Regions from separate parts of the Homo sapiens genome. Here region 1 is linked to region 2. The links are contacts of gene promoters, found by promoter capture Hi-C in human tissues and cell types (Jung and others, 2019). All regions are on one chromosome and are shown on one strand. Each heading gives the region's core, a stretch centred on a gene start or on the middle of the fragment in contact. The rest is flanking DNA. Distances are from core to core; before and after follow the strand shown. Region 1 has its middle 32 kb from the start of KCNC4. Region 2 holds the start of GSTM1 (glutathione S-transferase mu 1).

The links. Contacts are between HindIII fragments. The study calls those that stand out against the background at their distance.
Region 1: a fragment that was not itself captured here is called in contact with the fragment with the promoter of GSTM1 in region 2 in 2 of the 25 tissues and cell types used here (aorta and small bowel).

What each region holds. Positions count from the first base shown.
Region 1 is chr1:110,240,100-110,244,334 of GRCh38, forward strand. It overlaps a transcript of KCNC4 not described here. Among named protein-coding and RNA genes, the nearest start is that of KCNC4, 32 kb to the left of the region's middle. RefSeq lists an enhancer at 3,813-3,862. The HindIII fragment of the contact is 5,191 bases long and covers 1-4,038 here.
Region 2 is chr1:109,685,640-109,689,901 of GRCh38, forward strand. GSTM1 (glutathione S-transferase mu 1) reads left to right here and starts at 2,178. Exons shown (of 8, transcript NM_000561.4): 1 at 2,178-2,270; 2 at 2,531-2,606; 3 at 3,034-3,098; 4 at 3,409-3,490; 5 at 3,586-3,686. The coding sequence starts at 2,235. RefSeq lists an enhancer at 2,228-2,277. The HindIII fragment of the contact is 14,943 bases long and covers 1-4,262 here.

The DNA of each region.
Region 1 (4,235 bases), core at 193-2,692, 550 kb after region 2:
GGAAGTGAGGTCAGGGAGTGGGAAACGGGGAAAGAGAACCCTGGCCCGGTGTCCACCTCAAGCCAGCACCCTACCCCACTCCTTCCAGTCTTCCTGGACTCGGAGCCTCCCAGGCCTGCCCCAGCCTTAGGTGGGACAGCAGGGTTCCTCCAGCCTGCCACTGACACCAAGGGCACCCTGAACTCAGCTCAGACCCCAGGCTGCCCGGAGCAGGAGAGACTGCTCCTGAAGAGACTTCTGCAGGGACGAGAGCCCAGGATTCCTTAACCTGAGGCCCAGCTCCATCCCTGAGATCCCTAGAGACTCCCCTCAGCTCCCCTCCCCTCAGCTCCTCATATTGAGCCCCTGATCCAAGGACGATTAACTCCAAATCCAGCATCAGTGATCAAATGTTCATAGCAAACAAAGGAAAACAAACACCACCTTTCCTCCTTGCCTCAGCCCTGGGGCCCCAGAGGCTTGGCTCAGAGACAGGTGCCCTGCCTCCTCCCCACGCCCGGCACAGGCCTGCCAGCTGCCCCTCGAGAAGACCAGGGGCCAGCCTCAGAGGCCCGGAGGATCTGTTCCCAGAGTAGCTGTTGCCACAGTGACCCTCCCTGGGGTGGTGGCTCCTAAGCTGCCATGGGAGGCAGAGCTGTGCCACTACCACGACGACCACCACCACCACCAGGGCTGCCACCACAGCAAAGCTGCTCCTGGGGCCTCCCTCCTAGTTAGGCTGCCGAGAGACCAGTCTGTGCTATCCTCTCACCATGCCAGGCAGCCACAGTACCAGGGAACAGGAGTCACAATCAGCCCCCTTCCAACACCCCGGCAGCATCCCGCTGTCTGCCCCAGGACCCGCTCTTCCCCTGAGGGGATGACACTGCCCCCCTGGAAAATTGATTAGGGACCTCATTTCTGTCAGCACCCCACTAGAGATGGCAACCAGCTCCCAGGGCGCCTGGGGGCGGGATGTTGAGGGCAGCAGGGAGGTAAGAAGGCTCCAGTGATACCAGGCTCCCTCTGGGCCTCGGTGCTAGGTGGTGACAAGCTGGGTTTCCCTGGACAGGACTGGAAAGTTGCTCTCTAATACTCTCTATCTTTCTGCTTGGGTTCTTTCCCACCCCTGCCAGAGGCTCTTGCTAACTACTGTCCCCTTACATACTGGCACCTAAACATAAACACACATTTCCAGAGTCGTCCTGCTCTCTTCATTTTCTGACCTATGCACAAGAAAGTATTTTGTGTCAGTCATCAGCACTCTAGTATGAATTTAGGGTCCATGTATATTTTATTTCCCAGGAGATAGGACTGTTGACCTTCTCTCAACTTGTGGAGTGACAGCCTTGTTCTCTGTGATAGGAAGTCCTAGCACCAGAGAGCTCCAAGCAGGATAGATAATTTTTTCGATTAGGAGAGGAAGAAATCCAAAACTTCCTGTGTGGGTCAAATTAGGGGCCAGAGCTCTACAAGGAATTCTGGCCTGACTCCAATTAACAAAGAAGGACGTGGAGCGCAAAAGAGAAATCCAAAGTGATATGCAATGGAGGCTGCCTCTGTCTGGAAGATCTTCCTGCTCCTTGTGCTCCCCTCTTACATTCTACTATTGTGTCCTCAGCCTGGCAAACTCTTACTCATCCCTCAAGGCCCACTCAACTGTCACCTCTGAGAATCCTTCCTGGGCTCTCCCAGGTAGAATTCCTCTGTCCTTTATGCTCTCACAGAACCTTGAATATTCCTCCATTATAGCACTTACTGCAGTGATAACTTGTTGCTTGTTTACTCATTTATGGATGCTTTCCTTATTAATGTTTTTACCTCCAGCCCCTGCTCAGTGGTCAGGAGCTCAAAGGTGAACAAAGGAATGAGTGAATGAGTAAGGAGTGAATGAATTAGCTGCCCTCTGCTGACTTCTGCCCTTCACCCCTGTCATTCTAGTCCATGGTTGGGTTGTAAGATTTGTCCAGAATAATTATCCGGGATGCTGGACCTCTCACTCTGCCATCCCACCACCATGTGCCAGCCAAGTCTCCTCTCACCCACGCCACCCTCACCATCAGTACTCCCTTCCAAAGTTCCCCATTTCCCCTCAACTCTCCAGGCTTCAGCCATCTGGGCCTTTCTTTCCTGATGTTAGTAGCTTCAATTTACATCACAGTTAACTTGGAACAGCGGGGGGGGCTATATCCTGGGTCCTTTCTCCCTCCGTCTGCTTCCTTCTCAGTCTTCATTAGTGGTGTTCTGTGAGCCTCCCACCCACCCCAACTCTCCGAGTGCTAGTTAGGTGCTCAGGTTTGTGCTCTTGGATGAAACTCCTGCTACATAAGTGGACATAGAAAAAGAGGCTGGCAAGGGTTGTTTCCAGAGGGGTCTGAGCCAATCCCACGCTGTTGCTGGGCTTGAGGTTCCACATCTGTGAATGGGAATTAAGCTTCCCCTGCCTTCATCCAAGGTGGGATGATAATTAAATGAGAGTGGATGGATGGGTCCTTTGGAACTCCTGAAGCACCACTGGAGGCAAGGGATTATCATTCTTCTGGCTTTCTCTCTGTCGAGGACTTGGGTGTTCCTCCAGAGTCAGAGGGCAGGTGCCTCTGGAAGGTATAATAGCTAACGTGGATTGAGTGTTTACGACCAGCCCAAGCCCCCTACATGGCTTAATGGATCAGAGCAGCCCCAGGAGGTAAGGGCTCTTTTTATCACTCACATTTTACAGGTGAGGAAACTGGAGAGTAATTTGATGGAGATCTCACAGATAGATTTCACAGGCGATTTTGACCATGCTTCTACACTGGCTCTGTGGCCAGCCCCTTGGCACCAGCACCACCACTGCCATCGATTTCTGGTCCACGGCCAGATTGCTAATTCTGGCTCCACTGGCTTTGCCACTTGTGAGCTGCGTGACCTTGGGCAAATGACTTAACCTTTCTAAGCATGGTCTGTGAAATGGAGAGAAGGAAACATCTCCAGATTTTGCCCAGAGGAGTAAATGGAGGTGGGATATGTGAAGTGGCTCTAGACCCAGGCAGTAAACAGTGCTCAGTGTGTGTCCTTCCCTATTGACACTGACAGACCCTGCCTGGCAGGCCTGAGCACAACAGAAGCACTAGAAGTCCTTTTCCAGAAATTCCTTGCTAGGGCCTCTCACTGTGGACTGAGAGGATGGAGGCAGGTCCAACTCGAGGCAGGGCCTTGGGACACCAGTGCTCATGAGACAACTCACTGTCATGACCATTTCCGCCTTAGCGACCCAGAAGTGGTGACACCTGTGTGCTTGCTTCCCGAAGCAGTGAGAAGCCAGACGGAGACCCACACAGCTGCTGGCTCTAAAGGCTGCTCCCTGCACGTGGGCACCTCAGCCCCACCTTCCATTCCTCTCTCTAACCTGCTTCCCGGACCTGCTGGGGCCAGGAGCTGCCCCAAGTCCTTTCCACACACACCTGTGAGCTCCTGGGAATGAGATTAAAGGAGGCAGGGAGGTGAGAGGAAGCACAGGGGAAGACTGAAAGCAGATCTCAGAAGCTGAGAAGAGGAAGATGAAGAGGAGGAAGAGGGAGAAGGGAGAGTGGCAGAGAGAGGAGCAGTAGCCCGCGGAGCAGGGAGAGAAAAAGCAGGTAGGGAAGGGGGAGGGGCAGAGGAGGGGAAGGAGGAGGGCCTGCACCCGGCTGTGGGCAGAGGCTGCGGGGCCTAAAATGAACCGAACAGGCTGGAAATAGAACAGCTGGGCAAACCCCAAACGCTTTGTTTGGGTGTCTGCTGAGCAAGCACGTGAATGAGAAGAAAGGGGCAACAATGCAAGGCAGAAGTGGCTCATTTCACTCTGGAGGCAGGTCAGAACAAGAGGCATGTGTTCCAGTCCAGCACAGATTAGTCGGGGTTCTTTTTCCGGGATGTTTTCTTTACGTAATCATTATTTTTCACAGGCTGGCTTGGTGGCGGGATTAGCCTGACGCCACCCCATCCTTGGCAGGTGGAAGGTTTGGGTTACTTTGAGACCAAGACCACTCTGGGTTCTTATTCTAACTGTGGATGCCACCGGCTTCGGGAGAAGAGATCTTAATCCACTTTCTAAATGGAGGTTTAGGAATCTAAGCTGTGTAATGGAATACTATTTCCCTTATTAGAACAAACCCTAACTCGGGTGCGGTGGCACACGTCTGTAGTCCCAGCTACTCAGCAGGCTGAGATGGGAGGATGGCTTGAGCCCAGGAGTTTGAGGTTGCAGTGCACTATGATGCACCTCTAAATTAGTC
Region 2 (4,262 bases), core at 928-3,427:
GTGTCCAAGTGCCCCAACTTAGCAGCCACCTGCTGACCACCTGATTTCTGTGGCCTAATAGGGATGTGATGAAGTCTACCTGTTTACTCAACCCCAAACCACACATTATCCAGGTGGTTTGAAACTTTTTTGATATACTGGGTTCATCCTCTGGAGTCCTAACAATGTTTTAGCTAATTTACAAAAAACAAAACAAAACAAAACAAAACAAAACAAAACAAAAAAACTACTTTTTTTGCAGCACAACAGCCTGGTTTACATTGCAAAATGATTTCTCATTAAAGGTCTATCATCTATTTCCATATGTCCATTATTATTTGCAATATCCTTTAAAGCAGTCAACCCCAGGCTAATCCATTGCACAACTCTTTTGAAAGTCTTCCTTCTACCTTGAAAGAAGAAAGTTGGCAGGTTGGACATTGTTCTCGTGGAGGTTGTACCATGGGTCACATATCACGGTGTGACTTCAAAGGCCACTGGAGCCACCGTCTCATACTGAAGAACACACATGGGTCAGGAGCCAGGTCCAGGTCCGGAATGGTGGATCTGGAGAGGGGAGGGTCCCTGCCTGTGGTCCTGTGGGGAGCCCTCAGGCTCCTCTCTGGCCACCATCCTCTGACCTCCCTCCTCAGCAGGACAGGGTTCTGGCTTCTCTGAGGGACAGGTTCTGTGGCAGGCCAGGCGTCACTAACACAGGCCTCCATAACAACTGTTTCAGTACTGACTGAGTGGTGAAGTTAAATATTAAAAGCTGAAAAAAGCCAGTACCTTTATACAGAGGCTGGATGTAACAAAAGCCCACCAAGAGTTTTGCTTAGGCCTTTCCTGGGCCTTAAAGCATGACAAAACAATGAAGGAATTCTTAACAGGACCTATTTAGAATTAAACAAGTTTTATTGTGAGTCTGAAGAAACTCCCCAGGCCTCCACAAACAAGTTTATTGGGCGTCTGAAGGAACTCCCCAAACCTCCGTGATTTAGCAGGAGACAAGATAAGGGTAATCATCCCCCGCACCTGGACCCATTTAGATTAAATAAATAGACTGAGGCTCCAGAATAAGGTCCTCAGGACCCAGACCTCAGTTACAGATTAAAGAAGTTAATCACTTATGTCTTTAGATGAATGCACACTTACTTGTAGACATATACCTTAGAAGGTATATATGCTCTGGAAAACTTTGTAATATTGAGTTGGTCTGGTGGTAATTTCTAGGCCTTCTCCCTGTTACCGGTTGCAGAAATAAAACCTCTCTTCCTCCCCATTTGATCTGCATCTCGTTATTGGGCCTAGAGAAATAGCAGCCGGACCCTCAGTTTGGTCCGGGAAGTTCTTCCATCCTCCCTCGCCTGCTCTCTGTGGCCACTGCACTCACTGTTGCTGTTGCTGTTCCGGTCTCTGTGAGGTTCACCTAGTGGACTGGCTGGACATTTCTAGGGGGCACCTCAGATACCTCACCAACTTGCTGGATCTGATCCTTGGATTTCGATTCATAAATTGTGCCAAAATACGAAGTGGCTAATTTACACAGTACTTAGCCAGATGACCGAAGGACTCAGTACCCGAGGGCCCCTAACAGAAAACACAGACCACATTTCCTTTACTCTGGCCCTTTTCCTGGGGGTCCTTCCTATACCACTGACACTGTTCCTGTGTAGGCGGGGCTAGAGGGGAGACTAAGCCCTGGGAGTAGCTTTCGGATCAGAGGAAGTCCTGCTCTTACAGTGACAGGGGCTGAATTAAATTCCCAGGTTGGGGCCACCACTTTTTAGTCTGACCCCTGCAGCCGGAGTCTCCCAGAGCCCTTGGGAACTCGGCAGCGGAGAGAAGGCTGAGGGACACCGCGGGCAGGGAGGAGAAGGGAGAAGAGCTTTGCTCCGTTAGGATCTGGCTGGTGTCTCAAGCGCACAGCCAAGTCGCTGTGGACCTAGCAAGGGCTGGATGGACTCGTGGAGCCTCAGGGCTGGGTAGGGAAGCTGGCGAGGCCGAGCCCCGCCTTGGGCTTCTGGGCGCCCTGACTTCGCTCCCGGAACCCTCGGGCCTGGGAGGCGGGAGGAAGTCTTACTGAGTGCAGCCCCAGGCGCCCTCTCCCGGGCCTCCAGAATGGCGCCTTTCGGGTTGTGGCGGGCCGAGGGGCGGGGTCGCAGCAAGGCCCCGCCTGTCCCCTCTCCGGAGCTCTTATACTCTGAGCCCTGCTCGGTTTAGGCCTGTCTGCGGAATCCGCACCAACCAGCACCATGCCCATGATACTGGGGTACTGGGACATCCGCGGGGTGAGCGAGGGTCCGCTGGACGGTGGGACGAGGGCGCAGGGGAGGGAAGTGCGAAGCAGCTGCGGGACGGACTCTAGGGACCGTTCCTCTTCAGGGCTGCCCGCCTCAGAAGGGCCTGTGCATGCCGCTGTGTGTGTGTTGGGGGTGTGGGCGGGTAGAGGAGGCAACGGGTACGTGCAGTGTAAACTGGGGGCTTCCCTGGTGCAGACAAAGTCAGGGACCCTCCATCTCTGACGCGACCTGCGGGCCATCTCTCCCAGCTGGCCCACGCCATCCGCCTGCTCCTGGAATACACAGACTCAAGCTATGAGGAAAAGAAGTACACGATGGGGGACGGTAATGGCACCCTCGTGTTCGGGCTCTGCCCACTCACGCTAAGTTGGCACCAAGCAACCCATGGTGGCCACCTGTGGCTGCCTCTGCAGGCCTCCCCTGCTGGAGCTGCAGGCTGTCTCTTCCCTGAGCCCCGGTGAGGGAGCCCTCTGGCCTTGCAAGGCAGAATGCTGGGGTGGGATGCTGGGCCCCCTGTCTAATTGGGACGGGTGTCCCTCAGGGCTTGCCTAAACCCTGGAAGCCTTAGCTGTGTGGGGTCCAGAGCCCTCAGCGGGATTCTTTGTCCCTGAACCCTGGGATGTGGGACTGAGTGGTCAGATTCTAGATCCACCTGTCTCAGGGATCTTGCCACTGGCTCCGTGGGAGGGTCCCCGGGAAGGAGGGCTGGGCTCTGGGGAGGTTTGTTTTCACTTCTTCTTCCCCACCACAGCTCCTGATTATGACAGAAGCCAGTGGCTGAATGAAAAATTCAAGCTGGGCCTGGACTTTCCCAATGTAGGTGCAGGGGAAGGGGCGGTTTTGGGGGAAAGTGCAACGTGTCTCTGACTGCATCTCCTCTCCCCAGCTTAGAGGTGTTAAGATCAGGAGTCTTCTGCCCAATTCCTCTCACTCCTGGCTGTCTAAACAGTCCTTCCATGATGTTCTGTGTCCACCTGCATTCGTTCATGTGACAGTATTCTTATTTCAGTCCTGCCATGAGCAGGCACAGTGAGTGCCCGGTCTCCTCTCTGCTCTTGCTTATGGGAAGGGGATGCTGGGGAGCCTGGTGGCCCAACTGAGCTTCGCCGGTTTCCCATCCATCCAGCTGCCCTACTTGATTGATGGGGCTCACAAGATCACCCAGAGCAACGCCATCTTGTGCTACATTGCCCGCAAGCACAACCTGTGTGAGTGTGGGTGGCTGCAATGTGTGGGGGGAAGGTGGCCTCCTCCTTGGCTGGGCTGTGATGCTGAGATTGAGTCTGTGTTTTGTGGGTGGCAGGTGGGGAGACAGAAGAGGAGAAGATTCGTGTGGACATTTTGGAGAACCAGACCATGGACAACCATATGCAGCTGGGCATGATCTGCTACAATCCAGAATTTGTGAGTGTCCCCAGTGAGCTGCATCTGACAGAGTTTGGATTTGGGGCCAGGACTCTTGCATTCCTGCACACACTGGTCTTAAGTCCCTGGTACCATTCATCCTCCAAGTGCTTTCCCATACTATCAGCAGTTATTCTCACGACTCCAATGTCATGTCAACAAAAGCAGAGGCAATTCCCACCAACCTTAGGACACGATCCAGGCATCCCAGGGTAGAAATTCAGTTCCTGTATGGTAAAGTTTGTGTTCAGAATCTCCTTCATCAGCTCTGGCCTCTGACTTCTGTCCTGGGTCATTTCTGTCAGCCAGTTCACATCACCTGCCTGCTCCTAGAATATGCAGACTCAAGTAGAAGACTCAGGAATGTAATGGCACCCTCGAATTGCATCTTCTCCTCAACAGTTTTCTGAGTGCTGTCATTGACATGCACAGGGATCTGCGCATTTTCATAACAGACAGCTCAGAGGCAGTCAGAGGGCCTTTATTCCTCTCCCTCCTTCCTTTCAACTTGAACTTCTCATCTCCCTGGAAACTAGTCAATGTTCATTGTTTTCTTCTGCCACCCCATTAGAAGGA